Linked DNA regions of Homo sapiens: all the other regions are linked to region 1. Evidence: promoter capture Hi-C in 16 types of primary human blood cells and fetal thymus (Javierre and others, 2016). All regions are on one chromosome and are shown on one strand. Each heading gives the region's core, a stretch centred on a gene start or on the middle of the fragment in contact. The rest is flanking DNA. Distances are from core to core; before and after follow the strand shown.

Region 1 (3,151 bases), core at 230-2,729:
GATTAAATTTTCATGGAAGCAGAGACTATGTTTGTCTTGTTCGCTGCCATATCCCCCAAAGTGCCTGGCACATAGTAGGCCATCAATCAATATTTGAACAATTAATATATGGATTTTTTTTTTTTGAGATGGAGTCTCACTCTGTCACCCAGGCTAGAGTGCAGTGGCATGATCTCGGCTCACTGCAACCTCCGCCTCCTGGGTTCAAGTGATTCTCCTGCCTCAGTCTCCCGAGTAGCTGGGATCACAGGTGCGCACTGTGCACAGCTAATTTTTTGTATTTTTAGTAGAGATGGGTGTGCCGAGCTAATTTTTTGTATTTTTAGTGAGATGGGGTTTCACTATGATGGCCAAGCTGGTTTCAAACTCCTGACCTCAAGCGATCCGTCTGCCTCGGCCTCTCAACGTGCTAGGATTACAGGTGTGAGCCACCACTCCCAGCCATATGATTTAAAATTTTTTTATTTGTATAAATTTATGATGTACACATGCAATTTTGTTATAGCATAGATTGTGTAGTGGTCAAGTTGGGGCTTTAAGGTATCCATCACCCAAGTAACACACATTGTACCCATTAAGTAATTTCTAATCATCCACCCCCCTCGCCCTTCCAAATCTCCATGGTCAGTCATTCCACTCTCTATGTGCATGGGTGATTTGAAAGAACTCCTTCCTCTCATGTTCATCAGTCACACCTATGGTGGTGGCCAAGTCTAAGTTCTGGACACTGCCCACCAGTACCAGTCCTCAGCCCAGGGAGCAAGTGATTAGGGCAGAGAAGCCTGGTGGTTCTAGCCCATGGGCCCTTTCCCCTATTTGAGGCAACAGAAGGCATTTGCTTCCCCAGTGACTTGAGCTCCCCGAATAATGAAAAACTCTCCCTTCTACTTGATTAATACTTCTCACAGTCAGTAAACAAACCCAGAGCCATGGTTTTATCTTTCTTGGATCTTTTATTACAGGTAGGGCTTGTGTTGAGGAAAAACATAAATAAACCTGAACAATGGATCTACTCCACTGTTAATGCCCCTGAAACTCTGACTACATCCTCATGAGACTCTGGAAGTTAGAAAAGAGGAGAAACAAAAGTAAAAGAAAAAATATGAGCAGAAAAGAAAGGAGGCCATGCTCAGAGGGAAAGTGAGGAAGTTCCAGAGTCTTTCTAGAACGGCTCCCCCTCCCTCAGAAGGTGGTGACATCAAAATCCTACAAATATGAACTGGGAAACTGTTCAGGCAATCCATTGCTCCTGGAGTCTGAGTGTAATACATACACGTTTCTGCCCCTGGCTTCTATATTTTTCACCACAAGTTTTAGGAAGAAAAGCTGTGCCTTCTAGGCTGCCTCGACTTTGGAGTTAGGAGAGAAGAGGACGTGGGATACTCACGGGAATCGCTGTGCTTCACCATTAACACAATGATGAGAGGTAACAGGAACGCCATCAGTTCCCCCATAGTCCTTCTCTTTCCGGGTTCTTTTAACCAAAAACTGACAGGTCCCTTCTGAGAACCTCTTGGTGACACACAAGGCCTTCTCCCAATAAGAACAGGGGAAGATATGCAGTGTCATCAGTTGCTAGGTTAAAAAAAAAAGATAAAATGAAAGCATGAACACCTTCTTCGGTAACTTTTAAGTCTTTGCTGGTTTCAGACACTGCTTGCTCCTTTTGGTGTATCTATCTTCACCCTATTCCCAATTTTTAAATATTTATGGAGCATAGTCATGTTCAAAGCACAGAGAAACAAAGATTAATCATATCTGGTCAATCAGGGAGCTCAAGCTGCTGCCTCTGCTTCCCTGGAGCTTAGAATTTTGCTTAAGGGTCAGTAAGAAAGAGTCACAGTTCCCACGGCTTGGAACTCCCTGCTCTGGCTCCCTATGATGCTGAAGTCTCTGTCTGAGATAGCAGGTGTCACTTAGATTGTCCCGTAATCTTCAACTTAGGTCTGTCCTCCCTGCTACTCTAGCACCCAGCACAATAAGCTCAAAACACTTACTGAATAAAAGAAGGCAAGAGAAAGGCCTACAGAAGATTCTGAGGGGCAGCCACTCAGCTTGCTCAATCAGCAATCCCCAAGATCAAGCTGTGGCTACACTGTCATAAGGAGCACATGACAAGCTGGAAAACAGCAGCTTAAGCTTGTCCAGGGAGCTAGGGAACAGGCCCAGACAGGAAAGAGGAAGTAGACATGAAGGGGAGAGGTGAATGGAGGCATGGCCATGAGGCAGGCAGGCTTGAGCTGGGTTCAGGGACCTGGGTTTGCCTCCCCACTATTTGACCATGGGCAGAATCCCAAATTGCACCAAGGCCTGATTTCTTCAACTTTAAAAGCAAATCCTGTCATATATTTCACAGAGTTGTTGAAGGATCAGAAGTTCTGTTTATGATGCATTTAGTAGGTAGTAGAACCTTATGTACCGGTTGTATGGTAGGTTGAGAATTGTCGCCCCAAAGATGTCCACAACCTAATTGCCAGAACCTGTGGATATATTACCTTAAATGGCAAAAACAAAATAAAACAAAACAAAACCCTTGGCAGATATGATTAAATTAAGGATCTTGAGACAGAGAGCTATCCTGGATTATCTGGTGGACCCAGTGTAATCAGAGGGGCCTTATTAGAGGGAGGCAAAAGGGTCAGAGTCAAGGAGATGTGACAATGGAAGCAAAGGTCAGAGTGATGATGCCATTGCTGAAAGAAGGACATGAGCCAAGGAACGCAGATGGCCTCTAGAACTAGAAAAGAGAAGGAACAGATTCTCCTTAGAGCCTCCAGAAGGAACACAACACTTTGATTTCAGCTGATAGGACACATTTTTGGACTTCTGTCCTCCAGAACTTTGAAAGAATAAATTTGCATTGTTCGAGGCCACTAAGTTGGTGGTAATTTGTTATAGCAGCAACAGGAAACTAATAGGTCTACCTTTACCCAGAATAAAATAAGAAGCCAAATAATGAAATTAACATTTGGCAATCTCTCAGCGGCCCCTGGCACCTTCTCTTCTCAGATCTTTGTATTTCTCTCTTCCTTTCCTTTCTGTTTCTTTACATTGTTTTTCCTTTTGTTACTCATTTAACAAATACAGTCACCTGGATTTCTCTTTTGGAAAACTCCCCCAATATTCCCAAATGTCTCTCAGCACTGGAATT
Region 2 (3,191 bases), core at 211-2,710, 1.2 Mb after region 1:
ATTTTGCCATGTTGGCAAGGCTGGTCTTGAACTCCTGACCTCAGGTGATCCATCCGCCTTGGCCTTCCAAAGTGCTGGGATTACAGGTGTGAGCCACCACGCCTGGCCAAAATAATTATTTTAAATGAAACATTTTAGAACAATAAATTTTTTGTACAGGAACTTTTTGCTTTAGGGTAAGCAGAAGTTCATTTATTTAAAGAGATAAATCTATCCGTTGTGACTTAGTAGTACAAATGAAGTAGGCAAACAATTTTAATAAGGAAAAGATGATTAAAATATTAAACAGGAGGAAGTTAATTAAAGACATAGTAGCTGGCTCCATTTATTCCCCAGTCTTACAAATGATAGAAAAATATTTTAATGACAATACAAATGAAAATTCCTGGAAATGTTATACTGAAATTAATTAAACACAATAAAGTGAATGGAATATAGTATTCTTTTTGTTGAATTAGGACTTGCAGTTAATTATTAAACACCATCCAAGAGTGTTACCAAATCCTGTCACTTCTGCCAAGAGAGGGTGATTGAGAAGTGAAGGCACCAAAAATCACATTAAATGAGGAATTATTAATTCAATAAATACTTGAGCTACTGTGTAGTAGGCAGTCCCTGTTCTCTGTGCTGGGGATACAGCAGTGAACAAAATAGACTAAAAGACAAAAAATGTTTCCTGCCTTCTTGGAGATTATATTCTATGGGAGGAGTCGGGCAAAAATCAAAATAAGTAAAATAGTGTGTTGGTCAGGACTGTTATGGGAAAAAAAAGAGGAAAGGGGAAGGGAGTTTTACATGAATAGATTTCTTCTTGAAATTTGGTTAGATTTGTCCTGAATTGCTGTAGGTCAAGAACAGGAATTTTAGACTTACTTCATTTTTCCCCCAACAAATTGTATGTTCTTGGGTAAATTGCTCGCCATCTCTTAATTTTCACATTTATAAAATTAGTAGATCAAAACAGCTATTTTTTGTCACTACTGTCATTTAACAGAAATGCTGCATACGTCATCTAATCTACTAATAACAAACTTATGAGGTAAGTAACGTTGTCCCCATTTGACACACGAGCAAACTGAGGTTTAGATTAGGCAACTCATTGGATTACATGCTCCTCTTAATGGCACAGAGGGTGTGTTCCAGGACATGGTGCTTGCCATTATCATTTGGTACTGCTGCTCACTGTGTTGGTCCTATGAGTTTCTTCAGTCTATGAATTTCAGGTCAGGGTGGTCGACGTCTTACAGAGATGCCTGTAATCCTGTCAGCATGAGATTGCATGGGACCTCTGCGGTTTGGTCGCGCATTTACCGCGCCTGTCGCTGGGTCAGACGACCTGGCAGTAGAGGGTGAAGGATGGAGAAGGCAGAAGGCAGGGCACGGAGACTACTAGTCCCAGGATTCCACGGGCGCCTTCCGGCGGAAAGTGTTTGTCATATGGGCGGGGACCCTGGACGACATTCGGGCCGCGGCGGCCGCTGGGTGCAGCCGAGCGGTGTGGAGCGGAGAGAATACTCGAAGGGCTCTCCTGATACTAACAGTTTTACGATTTAAAACTTCGCCAGAATTTGTAAGTAAACAAAATGACTATGCAGCTTTTCCATGTTTTAGTATTGAAACTGATATCTTGAATTTTTGAAAAGGACTTTCAGAAACGGTCCCTCCCCACCCCCACCTTCGTACCGCACAAATGGTATTTTTATTTTTATTGTTTTTGAGACAGGTACTTGCCCTGTCACCGAGGCTAGAGTACAGTGGCGTGATCATAGCTCACCACAGCCTCATACTTCTGGGCTCAAGGGATCCTCCCGCCTCAGCCTCCCAAGTAGCTGGAACTACAGGCCCGCACCACCATGCCCTACTAATTACTTTATTTTTTATTTTTATAGCGACAGGGTCTCACTGTATTGCCCAGGTTGGTCTCGAACTCCTGGCTTCAAGCGATTCTCCCACCTCAGCCTCCCAAAGTGCTGGGATTACAGGCGTGAGCCACCACGCCTGGCCTCACTCAAACAGTAAACGAGGTAGGTTGGGGGTATATTTTTGTTTTGGGATAAAAAGAAACTGAATCTTATAAATATTAAATGGGTTAAGATGTGAGTAAATTTTTGGGTTTAGACTTTAAGGTGAGAAGCCGAATTATTTTAGGGTTCGAAATGTGAGTGGGAAATTTGCCTACTAGTGTAGGCGGCGATTACTCCATTCCCAACATGCCTAGGTTCTCGACATTCATAATCTTAATCCTGAAAAGATAATACTTAAAAAAAAAAAAAATTGGTGCTAAAAAGGGCAAAGTTGAAGTTTTAGTAAGACCTCCTACCATTTTGCTTACATATTATATATGTACCATTCTCCCAATTGTATTTAATACCTGATGAAAAAGTTTGTGCCTTTTCCTTCTTTTAACAAATTTCATAGTACTCTCTACTTTATGAGTAATGCTTAATTATCAGACTTTATACTGTTACACAGATCCAGAAATGAGTTACATAGATTAAACATACTGGCTTTGTTTTACCTGTCTTTAGGTTTTAACACATTTTATTTTGGATCTGTATGAGAGATCCTTTCTTTGTTTTAAGCTGTGGCAGTTATCCATGTTTTTTGAGCTTTTTTTTTTGAGCACAAGATGAGGATATAAAAGGCCAGTGGAAACATTTAATAAAAAAAGGAACTTCATGGTAGAGTAACTACAGATGTTTTTGGAAGACTTTGTGTGGATTAGAATAGTTTGAAAAACTAACATTTGTTATGAAAACTGAGTGCCTGTCTTCAGTAATGTTTATTATGCTGAACGTGCAGTCCACAACTTGATTACCTGTTTTTCTGCTGGTTTGTTACGCAACCTTGCGTGACTCATTTAAGAACTATTTTATCTAGTTTCTTTCCTAATGTAGAGGTAATGCTAGCTTGAGAGCTTCAATAATTTATAAATAAATTAACTTCAGAATGTAGCTAATTATTTGAGGATTATTGGGTGTTTTAATAATGTATTGTATCTTGTATATAACTTATTTTTGCCTAAGAAGTAATTTCTGTATTCCATTCATTTCCATGGAACACAGAAGTCAAAATTCTATTCCAGGAAAGTCCACACTTCTTTGAAGTGCCACTTGAATTTCCTGAAGGAATGTTTGCTTCAAAAAGCCTTGTCTGCTTTATCACTTTGAGGTTGTTCACTAAGTCAACTG
Region 3 (3,092 bases), core at 80-2,579, 1.1 Mb after region 1:
GTCACAATTCCATGTCATTAGCAGTGCATTTCCTTGTTTAAAAACAATATATTAAACGAAGAAATTTTCAGAATGGAGGGCAACTTTTAGTATTTTATCATTGTTTCTACAGAACTTTTCAGATTGTTACTAGCTCTGCCAAAGATAGTCTTTCTTTTAAAACTCTTCAAATACAGGGCAGGAGGTATCGTTAACATGGCAACAATAACGACTTCCCCAAATTCAAAACAAGGATCACCATCAAAACAAAACAATCAGGTGGAGTACATGGATATTGATCACTATTTCTGACAACCTGTTTTTTCCCATATGAAGGATTTGCTACTGCATTAAAACATTAAAATCTATGCCTATGTGCAACTTTCTATCTGAATATTTAAAATCCAGGCAAATTCCAATTCATATCTTGTGACATTAGCTAAATATTACTTAGCATGTTGAGCTGCATTTAAAAGGCAGAGGAAAATACTGACAACTTCCAAAACATAAAGCCTTTTAAATCTTTCCCCAAATTATCTGTGAATAAACTACCTTCAGCAGCCGCTAGACTAGAGTAGATCAAAGTTTTCCCTATACTTGAGAATGTGATCCCCACTGAAAAGGAACAGAAACTGATCATCCCTGCCACTGGAGCCAGTCCCCGGAATCTCCCCAAATACGCCTGATCGCCAGATGAAGAAGGGACACTTCTCCGGGCAGCAAAGGCTAGAGGTATCTTACCTCTGCAGGCTAGAGGAGGGGTGGAGGAGGCGGGAGGACACTGGCACGTAAGGAAGGAAATTCCGTCTTCAGCAGGCACTGGTGGGACCCGAAACCTAGGTCCCCGAAAAGCCTCAGAACCCAGGGAGGTTCCCCGAGGGGGACGCCAAGCAGGGCCAAGACTCTCCGCGCCCGGCCCCGCCTCTCTTGCCGCCACCGGGGACCCGGGACCGCGGACAGAGACAGTTGAGGCTGAGCGAGACTCCGCGGTCCCAGCCAGGTCCTACAGGAGCTCACCTGAGAGTGTCGCCTCCGCCCTCGGCTACCACGGTGCATCCCGCGGAGCCTGGCGGAGGGTGCAGTGACGCCGCCCCGACCGGCCCCAGGGCTGCCCGGCCTGGCCTCCCCGCTCCGGGGACGCACCGGGTGCCCTCCTCGCACCGGCTCCGGGGATCCGCCGGTCCGCTGGGAAGGAAGACAAGGCGGAAAGGCTGCCTCCCCTCCCTCAGGGCAAGCCACCCCCCGAGCTGCGGCTCCCTGCAGTTCTCTCTGGCGCAGGTCTGGCCCCGCTCCCCGGCCCGGGAGTCACTTCGTCAGGGGCGGCCCAGTCGCCATTACAGCCCAACAACTGACACGGAGGAGGAGCGGCGCCAGCGGCAGCGGCTGTGGCGGCGGCGCGAGGCAGGGCGGGAGCAGTCGGGCCCAGGCAAACCTCGCGAGAACTGTCCCGAGACAGTGCCACAGGCATGCCAACCTTCGGTTAGGGCCATGTTGAGTGTGGCCGAAAGGTGGGAGCGAAATAAAACAAGGAGCAGAACCGCGAAGAAGCCATGTTTGGTGCGTCGAAGTTTAAACTCGTAGGACTTGGGAGGAGCCAAGGTATATCCGCAGAAGAGACCACCCCTGCCCTTTCGCTTTGACGCTCATTGGGCCTTTTGGCTGCGCATTTCACCCCGGGCTGAGAAAACAAGCTGGGGATTCGACAAGAATGAACTCAAAGTCTGGAAACGGCAGCTTCTGAGAGTTTACAATGTTTCACCAACTGTCGTCCAAATAAGTCGTCACCCCTGTCAGAGTAGTTGCAGCTCTGCCGTTACCCACTGCTGTCACTGTGGCCGTTTTATTCGCGAGGGTTACAGTTCTGTTTAGCATGCATCTAATGACTTAAGACTCCACGCAAGTAAAACGGAGTTTCCTCCCATTAAGTATTGGCTTTGCTTTAACAGTGCTTTGAGAGGCTCTCTGTGGCCAACATATCTTCTCATATCTTTGTCCTCGTTTCCCAATCTCCGCGTGGTGAAATCATCTATCAAGACTTGGCTTAAAGGACCTCTCTTCTGCAAATAATGCCATCTTCCGCTAGGTGCTCACTGCACACAGACTCGCCGCCCACCACTTCTGTCCACCTTCTGAACTCCGATAGTTATTTACCCAGAGACTGTTTCTCATCTTTAAGTGTCGTGAAGACTTTAAGATCTGTTTTATCTCTCTATACCCCAAAATGGCCTAGCACAGTAACTAGGACATTGTAGGTGCTCAATAAATGTTTGTCGAATATCAATGACAGCAGGAGGCAGTAAATGGTCCCTCTTTGTAGGGCCTACAGCTGTGCCTGAGTAGGATGTACAGAAGTCCTGCATACGTGTGAAGTGTCTCCAGGAAGCTGCACTGGAGGGGACAGGAAATGTGGGTAATCGTATGGTGCAAGTGGTAGCAAAAAAGACAACATAAGGAAAATGTTATTTAGGTTTTGCCCAGTCTTGCTGTTTAAAGCCCTGTGTTAGATGCTTTTCATGCGCTATTTTACTGAATGTAAACAACCACCTTATTAAATATACTCACTTTTTTAAAACGAAGAAACACGTACTGGCCGGTCACAGTGGCTCACGCCTGTAATCTCAGCACTTTGCGGGGCCGAGGCGGGTGGATCACGAGGTCAGGAGTACAAGACCAGCCTGGCCAAGATGGTGAAACCCCGTCTCTACTAAAAATACAAAAATTAGCCGGGCGTGGTGGCGGGTGCCTGTAATCCCAGCTACTCGGGAGGCGGAGGCAGGAGTATCGCTTGAACCTGCGAGGCGGAGGTTGCAGTGAGCCGGGATCGCACCACTGCACTCCAGCCTGGGCAACAGAGTGAGACTCCATCTCAAAAAAATAAAAAAAAAGAAAGAAAGAAAGAAAAAGAAACAAGTACTGAAAAAGCTAAGTAATTTGCCCAATTTTATACCATCAATAAAAGGGAGCTGTAAGCTTTGGGATCTGCTTTGCCCCAAAGCCTGTTTATACTTTTTCAGCCCCATGCTATCCCCTTGACAACAGAGAAGACACCAAAGTTCTGTCACTGTGCTCAGAGCAGGGTTACCCTGGTATCAGCCTATGCACAATTTCTACTT
Region 4 (3,220 bases), core at 451-2,950, 1.4 Mb before region 1:
CAGTGACTTTGCTAATGGCAATGGAGAAACAAGTTATCTCAAAATGAAAAAAATGAAATTGTGAAAGAAAGAAGAAAGACGGCTGGGCACTGTGGCTCACGCCTATAATCCCAGCACTTTGCGAGGCCAAGGCGGGCGGATCCCTTGAGGTCAGGAGTTCGAGACCAGCTTGGTCAACATGGTGAAACCCTGTCTCTACTAAATATACAAAAATTAGCTAGGTGTGGTGGCCCACACCTATAATCCCAGATACTTGGGAGGCTAAGGCAGGAGAATCACTTGAACCTGGGAGGCGGAGGTTGCAGTGAGCTGAGATTGCACTACTGCACCCTAGCCTGGGTGACAGAGTGAGACTATGTCTTAAAAAAAAAAGAAAAAAGAAAAGAAGGAAGGAAAGAAAGAAAGAAAGAAAGAAAGAAAGAAAGAAAGAAAGAAAGAAAGAAAGAAAGAAAAGAAAACAAGCCAGAAAGCCCAGGTAAAGCAAACAGCACAGTGTAAACACCCTAGACCTCCCTTAGGAGTGGGTTTATGCAACACTTTCTGTCCCCTACCCTGACCCCCATCTCCCCCGGGGGGTGAGAATCTGGCAGACTCTCAACTTCTGGCTGGGTCTTACATTTCTGGGCTCAGATCCAAAGCAAGAGCTGGGGATAAGACTTGTTTTTGACCAAGGCTTCTAAAGTTTGCCATTTCCCCTTTACTCTTGGTTCCTAGCCTTTTTTCAATTACTTTTCTTTGGGAGCCTTCCTTTTCTCTTTACCTCTCTTACACATTAATGGGAGGTGATGAAAAAGCACAAACACTTAGCTGCCTGTTTCCTGTAATGAGGCTTAATTCTATAACAATAAGCCTCTGGTAATCAAGTGATACCCCCCAACATAATAGCTTTCAAATATTCAGTGTAGGCAATAAGCCTGCATGTTATTAACTTACTAGATTTAAGATGTAACAGAAAGGTCCTCCCACTAAAGGCTACTCAAGAAAAAACTCAAAGCACTCAAGCTTTGGGGGAGTTTGTCATTCTCACAAAATTCCACAAGAGGGCACTAGGTTCACACCACCCCGGCCAAGCTTCTGATTCTCCAACCCCAGTAAACAAGTCTCCGGAGAACGGGTTTAAAAGAAGTGGAAGAGGAGAACGGACAGGAAAAATCCAGAAGCAGACTAAGAATTGCCCAAGCATCCAGAAAACATACCCTAGGGCTGTTTGTTTCCTGTTAAAATTTGGCGAGTCAATGTGAAATAAACAGGGATCCAAATTAACTAATGAGGTGGGAGGGGAGGGAGGAAGGGCTGTGGATCCCATTGAGGATTTCTTTGGGAATGGTACCAACTAAAGCACATACTCTGATCTAAATAATTTTTTGATCAGAATGCTAAATTCTCTAAATTTTTTAATTAGCTTCAATAATGTTCCAATCAATCTACAGAACAACGATCTGTACAGTGTAAATTGAGAATAAAGGACAAAATGTATCTAAAAAAACCCGATTCACAAAACAATGAAACTGGAGGCAGATTATCAGATGTGAAAAATGATCTCCAAAGAGTCCTTCAAAGAGAATCTTTCCTATGGTGTTGTTTTTTTCTGCTAATCTAGTTATTCACAAAGAAAATATATATTGAGTGTCTGCTATACAGAAGTCACTGGGTAAGCATACCCAGGATTGAGAGGTAAATGGTTGCTCCCTGTCCTCTGCACCTCCCTCAGTGAGGACTGTAGGAATTTCAGTATTTTAGAGATGGTGGCCCCGGAACAGATCACCCACAGACCAAAGCGACTAAAGGAAAGGGAACAGAAAAAGAACAGCACCTTGAAAGCTCATTAAGCTCTAAAATACTAACCAAACATGACTTCATCAAGTTACTATGAGTTATCTAAGCCTCAGTTCCTCATCTTTAAGATAGAATGATGTGAAGATCTAATTCTAGAATTGTATGGCTTTAATTTTCTCAATAGGACATTTTCCCCAGGTTGTTAACTAAGATGAACTTGATTCTTCCCAACTTTCCACGTAGTTTCCTGCTAGAGACATGATTCAGGGTAGAGCTCAAACAGACCCAAACCTTCCATCATAACACGCAGTTGGGGAAATGAAGTGTTCCTTGTATTTGACTGATTTCAGCACGCATCCTACAAAACTCAAATCAGGCTACAGATATGGCTGAGACGTGAATTTCCAATTTCCTGTCTTGAACTGAAGAATATCAAACAATCAAAAACTGTAAAGAACAATTCCTCCATTCTTAGTGCTAGTTATTGAACTGAAGTATAATGTAAATGTAGTCTTTCCTTCTCTAATTGTATAAAGTGAAATTTGAAAGCTTGGCCAACTACAGCTTTTCCCTAAATTATGGTTTAAGAATAATGCTATCAACTTCCAGAGCTATTTCTTTTCTTCTTCATTTTTATTATTATTATTTTGATTTGGTTTAAGATTCTACTATGGTCCATTCTTTTGGAAAGAACTGATGTTGGTTTATTACATAATAATAATTTTTAAAAGAATATTTTACAATTCTGGGTTGGGTTTCCAGGGTGTTCCCCAACCCTGAGTCTCAATTGTATCTCTTTAACATGATTTAAAGGTCTCACTGAATGCCTATTGAAATCATTCATACACAGGGAAAACTCCATTTCCTAAACAGAAAAGGTTTGGTCAATGTGAGCCCTACCCTAAATTTTGTGTCTAATGTGTATAAGGCAACCACACAGGCCCTGGGAAGGCACTCCAGATCCCCAGGTAAAGGACTTCATACTTGCAGAGTGAGAATGGATCCTTTAAAAGACAGAGAAAGGGCCGGGCACAGTGGCTCACGCCTGTAATCGCAGCACTTTGGGAGGCCGAGGCAGGCGGATCACAAGGTCAGGAGTTCAAGACAAGTCTGGCCAATATGGTGAAACCTCGTCTCTACTAAAAATACCAAAAAATTAGCTGGGTGTGGTGGCACACGCCTGTAATCCCAGCTCCTTGGGAGGCTGAGGCAGGAGAATTGCTTGAACCCGGGAGGCAGAGGTTACAGTGAGTGGAGGTTGCAGTGAGCCGAGATTGCGCCACTGCATCCAGCCTGAGCAACAGAGTAAGACTCCGTCTCAAAAAAAAAAAAAAAAAAAAAAAAAAAAAAGAGAAAAGTTGTTTCCTAATAGAGATAAGATTTGGGAGTAGAGCAAAATCCTAATACAAAGCTTTTATTTCAGGCAGCAGAACAACATTGAAGA
Region 5 (2,796 bases), core at 279-2,778, 1.6 Mb before region 1:
AGTCACTGGTAACATAGTCAGTGCTCAATAAGTTTTTTTTTTTTTTTTGAGACGGAGTCTTGCTCTGTCATCCAGGCTGGAGTGTAGTGGTACTATGTTGGCTCACTTCAACCTCCACCTCCCGGGTTCGAGCAATTCTCCTGCCTCAGCCTCCCGAGTAGCTGGGATTACAGGTGCACAACACCACACCTGGCTACTTTTTGTATTTTTAGTAGAGACGCGGTTTCACCATGTTGGCCAGGCTGGTCTTGAACTCCTGAACTCAGGTGATCTGCCTGCCTTGGCCTCCCAAAGTGCTGGGATTACAGGTGTGAGCCACCACGCCTGTCCAACAAGTATTAATTAAATGAATAATGGGTTAAGGATTTTTGAACTTTGTCCTGAAAATGATGGTGGGTCAATGATGCAGGGTGGAACAATGGATGAAGGGCTAGGAAGCAAGTCATCAATTTCTTGCTATAAATGATGACAAGGACTCGAATGGTCATCCCTTTGTAGATGAAAGCAAGAGACTTGGTGTTGGGATGAGGATGAGGGGTGGCCTCCGGGTGATGGTGCCATCTGTGGAGATGGAATAAGTGGGAGGAGGGGCAGATTTAGGAAAAGATGAGTATTTCCATTTGACACATATTCAAGATTTGTAGGTCTAAAGCTCAGCAGAGAGGCTGGGGTTAGAGAGCGAGGCCTGGGAATCCCTGGTGTATAAGGGGTGGTAGAGGCCCCGGGTCTGGATGGTGTGACACAGGTGGTCGTCAAGTGACCATGCACTACTTGTTGTTCACAAGTCCCAGGGCTTTGTCTCCCCAGCAAGACTGGGTATTCTTTGGGGATGGAAATACTTTCCACTACAGCACTAAGTACACAGTACACAGCTCATTGCTAGGAAGATAGTCAAGAACAGAACTTGTAGAGCAGAAAGGAACCTTCAAAACCAAGTTATAGGAGAGAACTGAGGCCCTACATGGTTAAATCACATGCCTGAGGTCACTCAGCTAAGCAGCCACAGAGCTGGCTGTAGGATCAGGTCTCCAGACTGCCAGTCCGGTACCCTTCTGAGAAGGCCGCACTGCCTCAGAGCTGTGAGTTGAGTGAGCTGAGAAAGGTGACAGGGCTTGGGCTTTGGGCTTACTTAGCTTCTATGAGCCTGCGTTTCATAATCAACAAGATTGTCAGGGGTTAACTGGGACCATGCTGCATGTAAAGCATTGTGTCTGGAACACAATAGGTGCTCAATATGTGTTTACTTTCCATTCCTTTCTTCCAAGAAGACCAGAATTTGCAATGACAAAGAAAGGATGCAAGAGTGATGGATGCAGTTGGCTGCTGCCACCTGAAAGGCTGCAAGACTGAGAGGTGAGTGACATGACCCCGGGCATCACATTCCTCATCAGCAGACAGAAAGTGGCTATTGCTTTCCTCCAGAAGGTGTGCAAGTAGAAGCTTTGCTCCTGGTGCCAGAGTGAGCCTGTGGCTGCTTTCCCTCCCACACTCCTCACTCCTTTCTTGGCTCCGCCCTGCTGACTCAGTGACGCAGCAGGAGGAAACTGCTCGGGCTGCAAGCAGTCTTCCAGGCTTTGCGGCTGCCAAAGGAATAATTGAGACGTCTGAGTTGAGCAGGTAAGGCAGGCAGAAGGAGGAAAGCTAGAAAACCTCGATAAGTCGATCCTGAAGAATTCTTGGGCTTTGGAGACTGGAGAGGCCAGGGGCTGGAGGACTTGGGAAGTGGGAGGGGAGCTCCCAGCCCTTGGCTGCCCGGAAGGATCTTCCTCCAGTGCCCTTCCAGAGTTCTGTCAGAGTCCACACGTCATTTATCCATGTCCTCAGTTTCTCAGGCATCTCTTTGCGACTTACTCAGGTCGCACAGAGAAAGTGAAATTGAAAGCAGGATTGTCTGTTGGAGTACTTCCGCAGGCTCGTCTCTTCTCTACTCTGATGCGTCACTCAGGGCTTCCTTGATATTTCCTCTCCTTCCCGGCTCCTTTGTTTATACCAGCCCACCTCACATCTGATTGTAATGGGGACGGTCTACACAAACACTTTGGTTCAAAGATTTCATTGCCTGGTGATCGTGTATGTGTTGCACAATTAATTAAACTTCTAAGAGGCTAATCAATTAACCTCTGAGGCTTTGAAACTGTCAGAGTGGTGAGATTGCTGAAAAAGGGTTGCTTCGTGAATTCTATAGCAGATGCAGTTATTTAAATATTCAGGTAACAGTTTCGGGCTGTCTGATGATTGAACTGGATCTGTAATTCTCAGATCTGATTGACAGTTGGACGAAATTGATAGCTGCCAGTTGCCTATTCGTGTAGTAGCTATATGCACATGTGTAGGGAGAATAGAATTCACTAAGCAATTTATTTTTTCATAACGGGATATAATTAGCTCTAACATTCATTGAGTGGCTAATATTTGCAACACTCCATACTTTAATGTACTTTACACACATGACTGTATTTATTTTTGTCTCCATTTCAGGAAATAGAAAATTGAGATTCAACAATCCAAGGTTACAGGAAGTAATAGTAAAAAATTACACAGCCACAAGCTCAAACTTAGATCTCCCTAAGGTCAGAGTACAAGCTCTTTTCACTACTGCAGATACTCCTTGACTTATGATGGGGTTACATACAGATAAACCCATCCTAAATTGAAAATATTGTAGGTCAAAAGCACATTTAATACACCTAATCTACTGAACGTCATAGCTTATCCTAGCTTACCTTAAATGTGCTCAGAACACTTACATTAGGCTACAGTTGGGCAAAATCATCTAGCTCAAAGCTTATTTTATAA
Region 6 (3,068 bases), core at 143-2,642, 1.1 Mb before region 1:
GTGGTCTCGGCTCACTGCAATCTCCGCCTCCTGGGTTCAAGCGATTCTTCTGCCTCAGCCTCCCAAATAGCTGGAATTACAGGCACCTGCCACCACACTGGGCTAATTTTTGTAATTTTAGTAAAGACGGGGTTTCACTATGTTGGCCAGGCTTGTCTTGAACTGCTGACCTTGTGATCCTCCCACCTCGGCCTCCCAAAGTGCTGGGATTACAGGCGTAAGCCACCGTGCCTGGCAGTCCAAGAGTTTAATTGATTCAAAGCTTGGGTTTGGGATTCAGACAGATCTGGGTCCAAGTCCTGTTCTATAGCATGCAAGATAGGTGACATTGAGCAATTATAGGTGAGCCTTGACTAATGCAGGGATTAGGAGCACTGACACCCAGTGCAATTGAAAATTCATCCGTGTATAACTTTTGAGTGGCCAAAAACTTAACTACTGATATCTACCATTGCTTGGAAACCTTACCTATAACCAGAAACAGATGATTAACATGTATTTTGTATGCTATATGTACTATACTGTCTTATTACAATAAAGTAAGCTAGAGAAAAGAAAATATTATTAAGAAACTCATGAGGAGAAAATACATTTATAGTACAGTACTGTAGGTATTGTTACTGTAAGTTTATGTTGTCTGTTTCTAAGATGAGTCCTCCATCTGAAATGGCAGATGCCACAGCTGCAGACCTCAGTCTATGGTACATATCAAGCAATTCAACTTCTTCTAGGAATGTCATGACTTTTCTCTATTTTTTGGGAGCACTTCCAACATTATTAGTGGCACCTCATATAAGTCCCACAGTGTTACTCAAAGTTTATAGGAATGCACTAAACATGATGAAAAATAAGTGAGAACCAATTTACTGGAGAGACAAACTGCTCACTCTAGATGATCAGCATCACACAGTGTTTTAAGTGGATACTCATGATATTGGAGCTCACTGCAATAGCAGCAGGGGGTGACTCCAAACGGTTAACTTTATGCAGTGACAACTTAATACTACATCTTTATGTTTGTTTGGATTTCTCTTGACTGCAAATGGCACTGGTCTGTAAGTGTGTGTGTAAATTTTGATAAATTTTAACTTATTTTTACAGATTTGTATATTTTATGGTAGTAAATGATAAAATAGACTAACATCTTTTTATTCTTTATGTATTTGTGACATAACCTTTTCTTAATTTTTTGATATTTTTAGGCTACACCGTTGGTCTGTGAGTTTTTTTCAAATTTTCACAAATCTCCAAACAATATTCCAATATATTTGTTGAAAAAAATTCACCTGTAAGTTAACCCATGCAGTTCAAACTTGTCCAAGGGTGATCCGTGCTTTATCTAAGTTCCCTACTTGTTTGTAAACTGTTGATGATGATATCCACCCCTCAGGATTGTTTTGAGAACAACCATAGTAAGGAAGCAAATGCTTGAGAAGTGGTTAGCAGAATGTCAGCACCATGTAGCAGATGTTGGCTGTTGTTATTGCCTGATTTGGATGGACCATGGGCCCAATTTGAGGTGACATTTCCTTTGGTCTAAATTTAGGGTTTCAAAGGAGTAAGTATGTCAGTGCCTGCCTTCATGAGGGATCCTAATGAGCATGCATGTTGTATGTCACATAGCAACATACCCAAGGACTGTCCCTCTGTGTACTTGTAGCATTGAGTGGCCTGGGTCACAAGTGAGTTTGATTTTAGGTATCTAAAGTCTTCAACTGTCAAGTTCAAAAATCCACACAAGACTAATCCTGTCTTGTTCCCAGGGCTGGGCTAAGACTTAGAGGTTTTTCAGGGCAAGAAATGAATAAATTAGCTGTAAGAATGTCAGGGCCAGGCTAAAACAACATGGTCTGAGGGAATGTGATATTGAGCTGGGATTGAAATCACAGGGAGCCATGGCTGGTCTATGCAAAAAAAGAAAGTTAAAATTGCTTGTAGGGGAAAAATACCAAAACACACAGCTTTCAGGAGTCAAGGCAAACAAGGAGAGTAATGGCCTAGTAAGAGAGAGGCCATGAGGAACCTACCTGGAAAGACTGAATGGCCAAACTAGAGGCCATGAGGATCCTATCTGGGAAGATTGAATTCAAAGCTGAATTCTTGAGCCAATAATTTACCCAAAGCTGGGCCGTGAGGGCCAGTCTCAAGAAGCTCTAAAGAAATGCAGTGGACAGAGAGTGGGAAGTTAACTACAGTGACTCAGCAGGGCTTGATTCAGCCGTCCCTTCCCCTTTGCAGACTGCTTTTGTCATGTGTTAGGTGATGTATGTTGTAATGGAGCAAGGATGTTGCCACCATGGCAACGTGAAGTCAGAGCTCTTCTGAGCTCATTTCTCGGAACCACTTCCCCCTTCCCTTGACGAGCTTTCTCATGGAGCCCTCTGTTACCAGTCTTTCAGAAGCACCTCCACAGAGATCTTCTGTCGTCAGATGCTCCTATCAAAGACAGCTCCTCCTCTTCTTCTGTCTTCCTCTAAAACCTAACCCCAGGTTCCCCTCAAAGGCTTCTTCCTGAAGCTTCTCCTGAGTTCACATATCTCTGTTATTTTGAAAAGAAACCCCAGTACTCAGTAACAGTCAAGATGTGAAAGAAATGAGACTGAATCAGAACAAAGTTGGACCTCGGATAGTGAACAATAATCACAACCTCCAATCTTCCTTTAGTATGAAAGCTCTGGTCTCTGAAGTCCCTCTCCAAGGTCACTGCCTGGTAAGGGTGGCAAGGGCTGACATAGGTCTTAGGTCCTTCCTAGCAACCTGGCTGTGCGTGGGAAGGAATGCAAGTGTTTTCTTACTCTCGTACATCTTTGCTGTATCTCTTAGTTTTCGTCCACTCCTGCCTCTTGTCCCTGCATGTTTATCTCCCTGCCAGCAGCCCTCCACCTTTAGAGCTTTCCCTAATAACCTGAGGACTTCCAGAGTGAAGCAGGAATAGGGAGGCAGTGAGATGTAATAGGAAGATCTTCCCAGAGCTGAGATGTCCCAGGTGTTCAATGAAATATTTTGGGTTTGGTAGAACATTTTTAAAAAATATTTTTGAACATTGGCACTAAAAATAAAACCCAAAC
Region 7 (2,947 bases), core at 179-2,678, 1.0 Mb before region 1:
GTTTATTCCTATAAACCGACCAGTGATCTCCAGCTGCAGCTCAGAGGGAACAAGAGGGATAGGTGATATAAAAATCTGGATCGATATTCTAGTTCTGAGCAATTATCCTGCAATTCCTGCCAGGTGATGGGAATAAATAGGGTGCCCATAACCCGGAGGTTTCCTTTTTGGGAAAGTAAGACCAAGAGAGCTAACCAAAGCCAAGCCCCATGCATTCCAAACCTTAGCAAGCATATCTATAGTCACCAATTATCTGGATGTCCTTTTCTCTCCCTTGTTGGAGGAGGACTCAATCCCACAGCTTCATTGTAGCATTCGGCTTATGATAAGGAATCCATGCAATGCCCCAGAGACACACTCAATTCCAGGCTCGGGTAAAAGCCCTAGGAAAGAAAACTGGATCTGAGGGATCCAGAGGCAGACAATAGCAGAAATTAAAAGGCACAGCACAGGTGAACATGACTAATTCCTGCCGATTAAACCAAGCTTCCGGTTTCATGGATAAAAGTCATGCTAGTATCCATGGCATAAGTGAGGTCTAAGGAATTCAAAGGCTACTGACAGCAGGGTAGATAGGGCATATGTAGGTAAGAGCAGATACTCCCACACCATCCTGGTCCCCCTGATAAAATGGGTGAAAGCCGCTTTGACACCCATGGGTGGCACCCTGTCATGGTTACTGGGACTTGGGGATACAAAGAGCAATGCCCCACTTTCTCTCCCTCATGTACCCTGAGTATTTTCCAGGGAAAGAAAGGAAGCAGGGACACCTGCTTCTCTCTTTCTAGATGAGTAGCCATTTATCTTCAGTCTGTATCCCTTTCAAATGCATCCTGAACCCCTGAGAGTCCTCTGAAAAAAATGCCTTCTTTTTTCCTTTTTCTTCCTCTGTCCTCTCTTCATTGAAAAGTAATTGTGTCTTCATACTACAGGAAACTCCCCTTGGATGCATCCTCCAAACTGGAAAAAGTTAATTTCCCAAACCTTAAACTCATTGGCATAGGATTGGGCTTGGGGAAAGGGAACCCAGAAGCCTGAGATGCTGGCACAAGGGTAAAAGTTTTTTTTTCCAGTTGGGCTTTTGGCCTCCTTCTCCCAGTGCAAACTGGTAAAAGGCCTTAGGATTTTTGAGCTGTCCTTACTCACCTTGTTTCGTTTTAATACATATTTTCTAACAACCTGATTTGTTTCTTCTCGCCTCAGGCCATCAAACTCTAAAAGGTCATGCATCCAGAGCCTCGGATGATGGCCCCTTTTGCCAGAAACCGTTATATAGGCCTTTGAGGGAGATCTGACTGCCGTAGTCCCAAAACAGCGCCCCCTGTCAGCAGGAGGCAGTTAAGATTGTCTTACTGTCCTTATCCTTATCTTTAACCCTTATCCTTATCCTTATCCTTATCCTAACAGCAGTTAGATGTACTTCTTTAGAAGGGGGAATGATAGAGACAGGAGACAGCCAAGGGTCCCTGGTGAAAGCCCACCTTCAAGCCTACAACAGCCTGAAGGCTGAAGAACTGGACTGCTAGTCCCGGAAAAAGCACACCCTTTCCTGACTGATTCTCTCTGAATAATGGCCACCTGTGCTCTGGGGGAAGGGAGTGGAGCCAGAGGAAATCCCTGCATGGGGAGGAGCCTGGCCTCTTCATTTCCTGTGTGGTGGCCTGGGATTCAATCTGTAAGGTGGGGGGCCTGCTAGCAGGACTCTCTCTCACTTTACTGAGAGTTCCTCTTGCCTTTTTTCCTTTTCACCCAATAAACACAGCCCTATTCACCCTACAATGTGTCTGCATGCCTAAATTTTCCTGGTTGTGTGACAGGAGCCTAGCTTTTTCTACAACAGAGGGAAGGGAGGAAAGAAAAGAGGGAGATAGACAAAGAGAAAAAAAGGCAACTGCAGCAAACTGTTATTAATTGGTGAATCTAGGTGGAGGTTATACAGGATGTCATTGTATTATTCTAACAACTTTTCTGCTAGTTTGAAATTTTTTCAAAATAAAATGTTAAAAGTACATATTTACATCAAGTGTTGGTAAGGATGTGGAGAAATGGAAATTTTCATACTCTGATAAAAGGAATGCAAATTATTGGTACAGTTCTTGGAGAGTAATATAATGATGTTTAATATTACATTGATATAATACTATTAATACAGTATGATGATGATGATATGATAGTAGTATCAGTAATCATCAATATATCTATACCTTATACCTTAGCAATTCAAATGGGATATGGGAAGAAAATAGTAGAATTTTGTACTTATCTTTTAAGAAAAAATTTACATTTGATAATGGGTATTACATGTTAATACAATAGGACATTTATATAATTTATAAATAGAGACATATTGAGGATAAGCAGTTAAGCTTTTTTATTGATGAGGCAACACAATCAGCATAGCAGGAGACCACTCCCCCTTAAGAAATTTAAGTATACATGAGGAGATTATAAATATATGTAAGAATATTAATTGCAGCATAATTTGTAATGGCAAAACTTTGGAAACATTTTAAATATTCATCAGTAAAAGAATACATAAATCAATTGTGTTTTATTAATATAATGGGATGTTAAATAGCAGTTAAGATGAATGAAGCGAAGCTGTAAGTACAGGTTTAGAAAATGTTGAGTGAAAAAACCAAGTCACAGAACCATAAGTCTATTCATATAAATTGTCTTATTCATTTGGCTGTTCCAACAAAGTACCATAAACTGGATGGCTTATAAACAACAGAAATTTATTTCTCACAATTCTGAAGGCTTGGAAGTCTAAGATCAGGGCACCAGCAGAGTCAGGGTCTGGTGAAGGTCCTCTTCCAGGTTGCAGACTGCTGCTGACTTCTAATTGGATCATGACACGGCAGAAGGAGAGCTAGCAGTTCTTGGACCTCTTCTTATAAAAGGCACTAATTTCAATCATGAGGCTCCACCCTTATGACCTGATCAC

What was found. The method cuts DNA at HindIII sites, captures the fragments that hold promoters and counts their contacts. A CHiCAGO score of 5 or more calls a contact.
Region 2: the fragment with the promoter of TOR1AIP2 here is called in contact with the fragment with the promoter of MR1 in region 1 in 6 of 17 cell types (fetal thymus, total CD8 T cells, naive B cells and 3 more); the score reaches 8.4 in fetal thymus.
Region 3: the fragment with the promoter of CEP350 here is called in contact with the fragment with the promoter of MR1 in region 1 in 13 of 17 cell types (naive CD8 T cells, activated CD4 T cells, total CD4 T cells and 10 more); the score reaches 14.4 in naive CD8 T cells.
Region 4: a contact is called between a fragment that was not itself captured here and the fragment with the promoter of MR1 in region 1, in 2 of 17 cell types (fetal thymus and M0 macrophages). The highest score is 5.4, in fetal thymus.
Region 5: a contact is called between the fragment with the promoter of RNASEL here and the fragment with the promoter of MR1 in region 1, in 2 of 17 cell types (total CD8 T cells and total CD4 T cells). The highest score is 6.2, in total CD8 T cells.
Region 6: a fragment that was not itself captured here is called in contact with the fragment with the promoter of MR1 in region 1 in 1 of 17 cell types (M1 macrophages); the score reaches 6.8 in M1 macrophages.
Region 7: a fragment that was not itself captured here is called in contact with the fragment with the promoter of MR1 in region 1 in 1 of 17 cell types (naive B cells); the score reaches 5.3 in naive B cells.

Annotation. Positions count from the first base shown.
Region 1 is chr1:181,032,311-181,035,461 of GRCh38, reverse strand. MR1 (major histocompatibility complex, class I-related) reads right to left here and starts at 1,479. Exons shown (of 6, transcript NM_001385161.1): 1 at 1,388-1,479. The coding sequence starts at 1,454. RefSeq lists enhancers at 1,570-1,679, 1,810-1,909, 2,110-2,299. The HindIII fragment of the contact is 2,248 bases long and covers 1-2,141 here.
Region 2 is chr1:179,876,072-179,879,262 of GRCh38, reverse strand. TOR1AIP2 (torsin 1A interacting protein 2) reads left to right here and starts at 1,460. Exons shown (of 7, transcript NM_001199260.2): 1 at 1,460-1,570; 2 at 1,890-2,024. RefSeq lists an enhancer at 1,126-1,485. The HindIII fragment of the contact is 9,006 bases long and covers 1-3,191 here.
Region 3 is chr1:179,953,047-179,956,138 of GRCh38, reverse strand. It overlaps CEP350 (centrosomal protein 350), which reads right to left and starts at 1,329. Exons shown (of 38, transcript NM_014810.5): 1 at 997-1,329. RefSeq lists a silencer at 895-1,344 and an enhancer at 1,132-1,633. The HindIII fragment of the contact is 10,111 bases long and covers 1-2,951 here.
Region 4 is chr1:182,394,729-182,397,948 of GRCh38, reverse strand. No RefSeq gene overlaps it. Among named protein-coding and RNA genes, the nearest start is that of TEDDM1, 4.3 kb to the left of the region's middle. The HindIII fragment of the contact is 1,254 bases long and covers 1,074-2,327 here.
Region 5 is chr1:182,587,988-182,590,783 of GRCh38, reverse strand. RNASEL (ribonuclease L) reads left to right here and starts at 1,528. Exons shown (of 7, transcript NM_021133.4): 1 at 1,528-1,617. RefSeq lists an enhancer at 1,653-1,812. The HindIII fragment of the contact is 1,344 bases long and covers 1,443-2,786 here.
Region 6 is chr1:182,148,790-182,151,857 of GRCh38, reverse strand. No RefSeq gene overlaps it. Among named protein-coding and RNA genes, the nearest start is that of ZNF648, 89 kb to the right of the region's middle. The HindIII fragment of the contact is 2,255 bases long and covers 265-2,519 here.
Region 7 is chr1:182,033,949-182,036,895 of GRCh38, reverse strand. No RefSeq gene overlaps it. Among named protein-coding and RNA genes, the nearest start is that of ZNF648, 26 kb to the left of the region's middle. The HindIII fragment of the contact is 1,880 bases long and covers 489-2,368 here.